Regions from separate parts of the Homo sapiens genome. Here region 2 is linked to region 1. The links are contacts of gene promoters, found by promoter capture Hi-C in blood cells and fetal thymus (Javierre and others, 2016). All regions are on one chromosome and are shown on one strand. Each heading gives the region's core, a stretch centred on a gene start or on the middle of the fragment in contact. The rest is flanking DNA. Distances are from core to core; before and after follow the strand shown.

Evidence for each region. Contacts are between HindIII fragments. The CHiCAGO score rates a contact against its expected background, and 5 or more counts as called.
Region 2: a contact is called between a fragment that was not itself captured here and the fragment with the promoter of GLYATL3 in region 1, in 1 of 17 cell types (M0 macrophages). The highest score is 5.7, in M0 macrophages.

What each region holds. Positions count from the first base shown.
Region 1 is chr6:49,498,621-49,502,038 of GRCh38, reverse strand. GLYATL3 (glycine-N-acyltransferase like 3) reads right to left here and starts at 2,116. Exons shown (of 6, transcript NM_001010904.2): 1 at 1,997-2,116. The HindIII fragment of the contact is 14,834 bases long and covers 1-3,031 here.
Region 2 is chr6:47,791,824-47,795,630 of GRCh38, reverse strand. It overlaps OPN5 (opsin 5), which reads right to left. Exons shown (of 7, transcript NM_181744.4): 3 at 3,659-3,807; 4 at 68-402. Among named protein-coding and RNA genes, the nearest start is that of OPN5, 12 kb to the right of the region's middle. The HindIII fragment of the contact is 3,804 bases long and covers 1-3,389 here.

The DNA.
Region 1 (3,418 bases), core at 867-3,366:
TGTAAAGACAATGCCAGGTTGGACTGCCAGAATGAACCAATAGCACGTGATGTGCTTCCCCCTGCAGACAGCCTATGAATGGATGTGCATTCAGGGAGGTTTCACATCACCAAGATTCCTATCCCAGAAAAGCAGATGTTCATAGCTCTGGGAATGGAATGCGACCCTTGTGGATAGCCTATAAATGGACGAATGAGGGGTGCCTGTCCATATGGATAAGATAGGGCTATAACACGCTCATCTTGCCACAGCTCTTCTAGGCCTCTTTAGGGTTAAGACATATTTCCTTCTGAGGATTTCTGGTCTAACTAGTTGTCTAGCTTCACATCCTGTTTCTATGGATTGTTTGTAACCAGCTTTTGCTGCAACTGTTACTGCTGATTAATATCCTGCTAATCATAGGTTATGGAAAGACTGTGTTTCTGTTTTAAGGCTCTGTTAGAAATTACTGATGCACACACTATATTGTAAATTCTTATCTCTGTATACTGTACTTCTGCATACAGATATTATGTTAAAGAATTACTTCATCCCCATGTGACCATCTCACCTCATAATCAAATGACCCTAAATCCCTCACTAACCTACCGCTGCCCTCACTAAACTTAATAATAAATGCTGGTATAGTCAGTGCATTGGCGGCACCGCGGGACCTGCTTTCACTATCTTGTGTGAGTCTCTTATTTCTCGACCTGCCAATCCACCTAGGAACAAAGAGAGAGCCCCGTTGCATTGCGGGCTGCTGGCCAGCTCCCGCGATACACACCACCAACGCCTGGCTAGTTTTTTTTATATTTTTAGTAGAGATGGGGGGTTTCACCATGTTGGCTAGGCTGATCTCAAACTCCTGACCTCATGTGATCCACCTGCCTTGGCCCCCCAAAGTGCTGGGATTACAGGTGTGAGCCACCCTGCCTGGCCTCCAGCTTCTTAATAGCAAAACCTCTACTTAATTGGCTTCAACTTACCCTTCTAGACTATACTCATGCAACTCACAAATTACTCAGGGTGACAAACTAAAATCAGAGACATTCCCCCATGGGTTCATGCAGAGAGGACACTACAATTAATCTACATTTGACAATACCCTTTCAGTAAACAGTGATTCATTTCATAAGGATCTTTCATTAAATAGAAATTTTTTTAATGCCACAAGGTAGAGCAGAAATTCTCATTGATGCAGAAAATATTTTCTACACATTTTTGTAACATGTTAGAGAGTCATAATGACGATTAACTCTGAAAGCTACAAGAGCAGAATGTCATATCCTTACCACTTGATTAGTACTGTCCATAATCAGTATGTTCTGGAATTGGAAGTTAAAGGTTGGTAACTCCTTTAACCAAATTATAACCAATAGACTCACTGTTTGAAAGTATTTGTCAAGAAAAAGAATTATGCTCATGTAAGTTTTAGAAACTGAAGTTTCTTTGGGGGCATTTGAGTGTTTATAAGCACAGAGCAAGCATCTAAAATATTTTATTCATTAATATTTATCATAACAATGAAAGCATGACACTCTCCTGGGAGACTTTTAAGTCTTATAAGCAATAAAACATAAGATCTCTGTTTTTGTAATGTAATACAATATTTACAATATAATGGTGGGCATTTGTTAATGAGGAAATACATTTTTTTAAGCACTTGGAATCCAATGCTAGTAATTATTTTTCATATGTTAGGATTTTTGTTCAGAGAGGTTGCTCTAGTTGTGCCCATATCACAATGCAAACAAATTTATACTTGGTAATACTTATTTTCCTCACATCAAAATTTAAGAGTAAAAATTTTCCTCATATCAAAATTTAGGAGTTAAAAAAACCCCAAACAAAAACACGCCAAGAAACAAAACAAAATATATCTTTCCTTGAAACCTAATTACAATGTATTCGTTCTGTATAAGGTTGGATTTCATCTCTTCTCTATTTTTCCCATCCCTTTCTGCAATTATAAACTATGACTTGAAATGTATTATATTAATGAATAAATGTTTACCTGCTGGGAGTTCAGTCCAGAACTGAGGGTTTTCAGCTGTGTATCAGTCCAGTAGCCCTTTTATATAAATGGTAAGTTTATTCTTCAAGGCTACCTCTCTAATTAGCCCTTAGTGGAAACAGGAGGGAGAGAAAAAAAAAAAAGTGCCCACACCTGTAGACGGGGAGGAGTTTATGATGGTGATCAGGTGAAAATCATCTCACATAGAGCACAGGCATTTCCACTCCATCTCTTCCTTTTTATCACATTTAGCCTTATGGTGTAAAAGCCAATGAATACTAATCTTGATTTAGAGATAGGTATTTTCTAGCCATAAAACCTGTCTATTAATCAGTATCTCATGAAGGAGAATAAAAAGAAGAGGAGCCCAGGCAAATGGTAGTACGATAAGAAAGTAATATAAAGGTATTGACCCTTTAGTTATTTTTTTATATATTCTGAAGAAAATGATTTTGCTGCCCTAAACTTCCAAGGCTGAAAGGGGGTAATCTCTACAGAGGATACATAAGTACATGAGAGTAATTTCAAGAATTTTAATTACTTCAGCCTATTCTTTTAAATGAAAAGTCATTCAGAGTTTACTCACTTCTTTCAAAAGACTGCAATTTTAACCACCATGTAAGTATTTACTTGGACATCTCAGCACTCAATATCTACATCTTGAAATAATATGCAACACAAATGTCTCAACGGCATATGCAGAGTGCTTCAGTTTGAATGTGGTTAGATGGGAGGATTCTGTTTACCACATTTAGGTCTCATAAAATGGTAAGGTAGGGCATTCTTCACTAGAGGACACTGAGCTTTGTAATACAATGGGCAGCTAGTAGTTGACAGCAAATGGAGAAATTGTATTAGATGTCAATTACTAGATGTCAAAATAAGAGTTTTTGATCTTGCTGTATACATTGATAACTTCTTTTTTAAAAGATGTTACTGAGAACAAAGTATACCTACTCTTGGACCTAAGGAGCCTATATAAATATAGTTTTCTAAATATTAACTGAGTAAAATATATTTTTTAAAAGTTAAGCTTTTTTTTTATTTGCAAAACAGGAACTCCTTTAGACAGTAAGTGCAATATCCTAGGGGAAACTTTAAAAAGTTTGGGGTCTGGTTATTTATAAACTCTGAGACATGTAAAAGTCTCCCCAAATTTAGATTACGTCTTGTTTCCAAGTGCATTTAAAACAGAAATTTGAGCTCTTTGTTCTTTATAAAACATCAGAACTAATTGGAACTAATTTTTGCCTGAAGAAAAAAATAATAAAAAGGCAAAACATTCCTTTTCCTGGAAAGTATGGTTGAAGGTAATTAAATTTGAGATATGTATATATATTAGGCTAAGGCAAACTTTTAACTCTGAGATTAACGGAAAAAGGAGGAAAAAAGGAGATTCCCAATGTAAGATTAATTTAAAGG
Region 2 (3,807 bases), core at 238-2,737, 1.7 Mb after region 1:
TATCCTTTGTACCCTATGAAGTTGTAAGTAGTCAGAAAACACATGTGTAAAATATTAGTGCACTTACCTTTGTCAGTTTCATTTCCAGCACATGGCTGCTATGGATCCGACTGTCGAAATGAGCTACTTCTTTGGAAGAGGACTTAACCTTGGCAATGATCTTTACGTAGGAGAACACGATCACAGCCGTTGGGAGCAAGAGGCAGAAGAAGAGGATGTTCAGGATGAAAACCTGGCCCCCTACCGAGGCCTGGGCCAGCCACCAGTCCAGGGTGCACGAGGTTCCGAAGGGCTCAGGTACGTAGTCCCCCAGACCTACCAAGGGCATGGTGGTCCAGAAGGAAGCATAGGCCCAGATGGCTGCCAGGCAGATGTAGGCGTGCTTTCTTTTCAGCCAAACCCCTGGAGGCGGAAGAAAAGCATTACCCGGATGTAATCTGCCCTACACCCAGATACCTCCCCTCGATATGTCAAATTCCACCTCCAAAGATTTATTCCATTGATTTCTGGGAGACCTGGGCAGATAACTGAAGCCTGAGGGAGAGTGGAGTAAACGGAAAAAAGTTCCAGAGCTTGGGCCTTTCTCCAGGAGAACACAATTGGAAGGTTTTCTCTAGGCATCTGGGAGCTTTGGGAGGGAGAAGTGACAACAGCTGGGAAAAGGGACAGGAAAGAGATGAGAGGATGCTGAAGACAATGGAGGCCCTTGAGAAAACATCTCGGAAAGGGTGTGTTAGTGGATCATCCAGGGAAAATCCTTCTGGGAGGTGAGGAAGCACAAAACATGGCTTGTGTCTTTAAAACGCCCTTCCTGCTAACAGCTTTTGTGTTGCTAGTCTTATCTGGCTTCCTAAGAACTTGTGGAAGGGGCTTGGTGGCTCGTGATCATGACACTATGGTTTGAGATTAAAGTCCTTGACTGTGTTTAGTAATTTGTGGAGCAGGTTTGGAATCTTCAAACGTCATTCACACAACAATCGCGCTCACACAGCCACAGCGGGAGAGGCAGAGAATCTAGGTAGGTTGCATCATGTTCTGCAAAGTAATTCTGTGAAGATATTTTCAGGAAGACAAAAAATGAGCTCCGTTTTTCAGCACTAGTTTCTGTTAACCAAAAGAGAATTCCAAGCGGAGGAAATAGTGCAGTCATCTAAGAAAAGCTGTAAAGCACTAGTGATCATTTTCAGAATTCAACACAACCACCAAAGACAGGTCGGCCTGATTTAGTGCAGCAGCCTCCACAGGAAATTACCTTCACACCTCACTCATCACCTCGAACGAAGAGGGCCAGGAAAGTGACTCTTTACTGCCTTGGTTTTGTGTTAGCAGAGAAGAAATATCAAAATATATTCAACAAAAGCTAAATGATTACTTCAATATAGACTCAGGGCCTGCCTCTGCTTAGTGCAATGTGAGGTTTGGAAAGTCGGTCAGGCCTAATTCTTCTATGTCTAGTCTTTGACTGACCTTGTGCATGCAAGACTATATTGCATATGGGTTAAATAAAATAATGTAAGGGGCCTGCTTTGCAAACTAGAAAGTGCTATATTAACATGAATTATTTTACTCCTGTGTAAGTGTATCTCATTTAGCGCTAATAAGAAATATAACAGATTGTTTCTATACTCTATTGTCTCCATTTTTTTCAAATACATGGCATTTTGTGTCATGAAATGCAAATTTCATGCCCAACCAGATAGGGGTGGCAATCATGTAGCCACAATATAAGTCAGCTCTTGTTTCTCCACTAAAACTGATAAAACATTGGCACAGGTAATCACATATATTCATGGGAATGTGCATAGGCATACGTATAAGCATTTATGGTTAGGGTTACTTGTGAGGTGTTTTATACTTACATTCCAGTATGGTGAAAGGCTGTCAAGTACAGGAGGGAGTAGATTAGTAGATTGGTTCTGTGTTGCTCCAGAAGTCAGAACTAGGACCAATGGGTGGAGGTTACTGGGAGGCAGTTTTGTCTTAATATAAGGAATAACATTGTAACAATGAGAGCAGACCAATCAGAGAATGGGCTGCCTTGTGCAGTAGTAAGCTCCCCGTCACTGGTCACTGGAATTATTCAAGAAGAGGCCAAGTGGTCATCTCTCAGGGATGCCTTAAAACAGTTTACCACGTTACATGGGAGAAAAGTCTACACATCCCCAAGCGACCTTCTAATTCCAACATTCTGGGACGCTGTGTGGAGGGTTTAATAGTGCATCAGATTAAATGATGAAACCACACTACTGAGGTTCAACCTTAGAAGAAGCTGGAAAATATACACAGTTCCCACATATGGAGTTATGACCTGCAATGATCCTGGCAGTGGGCGGCATCATCTCTTTAACTGACAAAGCCTAAACTCAAGAAAATATTTAAAAACAGAGGTATCAGGGTTTAGTATTCCTCAAACACTCTCAGGAAGTTTAACTTTTTTGCCTTCTTATCTATAAAATCTATAGTTAAATTTAAAATCTCTTTGGTATGAACAAAAATAAGTCTATAGAAAGAATTAGATGTTGACGTCACACAGAATATGTATAGTTGTATATTTTATATCTTACTGGAAATTTTGATTCAAGCTATTTCTATTGGAAGTTTTAAATGTTTAAAAAAGGAGATGTAAACTTTAAAAAAAAAAAAAAAAACGTAGTGCTGGATGATGAAGAGAATGGCTCACAAGCCCCCGCCTCCCACCCACCCAAGCATGGATTCTTTGGAGTTTGGGGATGTAAACTATAACAATACAAAGGGAAATTCTACCACATTGACAGTGTCAGGTCAACTTGATTTTTCCCACCTCAGTCTCCAGGCCCTGCTCTGACACCACAGTCTGTCGTCCATCACAACCACTCTAATTGACAGATTGACAATCAAAGCAACTTTATCCAGAGGAAGTCAGTACTGTTCCTTGGTTGTGCCTGGTTCTCAATATTAAACTTAAAGACCCAAATGCAATTCTTTCAGGTTTGATAAATTCCGAGAGCTCCAACAAACAAATGTAGTAGAAATTATTTTTAACCTGTAGAATGGTCTAATCATTAAAAAACATATATTTAGTCCCTGGAAACTTATTTTCTGCTGATTCACCAATTCTTGTAATCACTCATCTTTCTACCAACCAACACCACAAAAAAAAATATGTTGAGTGATATTTCTACATGTGTGTCCTTTCATGCAGAAACAGCTACATGACTCTAACTTGGAGGTGAACTTTTTGGAATTCCTTATCTCTGAAATCACAGGGAGCGTGAGTCCTAAGGGAGAATCTTAAACAGCTTTTCTTATAATTACACTTCCTAGGTGGGGAATGAGCTAAACATCTTGGACTTAACACCCTTTCGATGCACTTTATTTCTTTTGTTTGCGTGGGAAACATGATGGAAGCTTACACACTATACAAGAAAATGGTACTTTTTTAAAGCATTATAACCAAACACCAGACATTACTATAAAATATGTATTAAAAGAAATCTACTTTGACATAGGTTAAAATCCTTAAACATGTCAGAACAAGATGATAGGCTATAAATAGAAATATTCTTGATCTCTGAGGTTATTCATAATCTTTGTTTATTACCTGCATAAAATATGTACAGTTCTAACACTCAATCCACCTAGCTTTAACTGTCAGGGAATGAGAAACCTGCCAACTTACCATAAGATAAATAGCAGATTTTCAAATATCGATCCAGGCTGACAGCAGTCATGGTGATAAGGCTTCCACAGCCAAAGAAAAATCCAGCCCATCCATACCAGCGGCAGCCGATCCAGCCAAACACCCAGCGGTGACAAAAGCAAGAGATG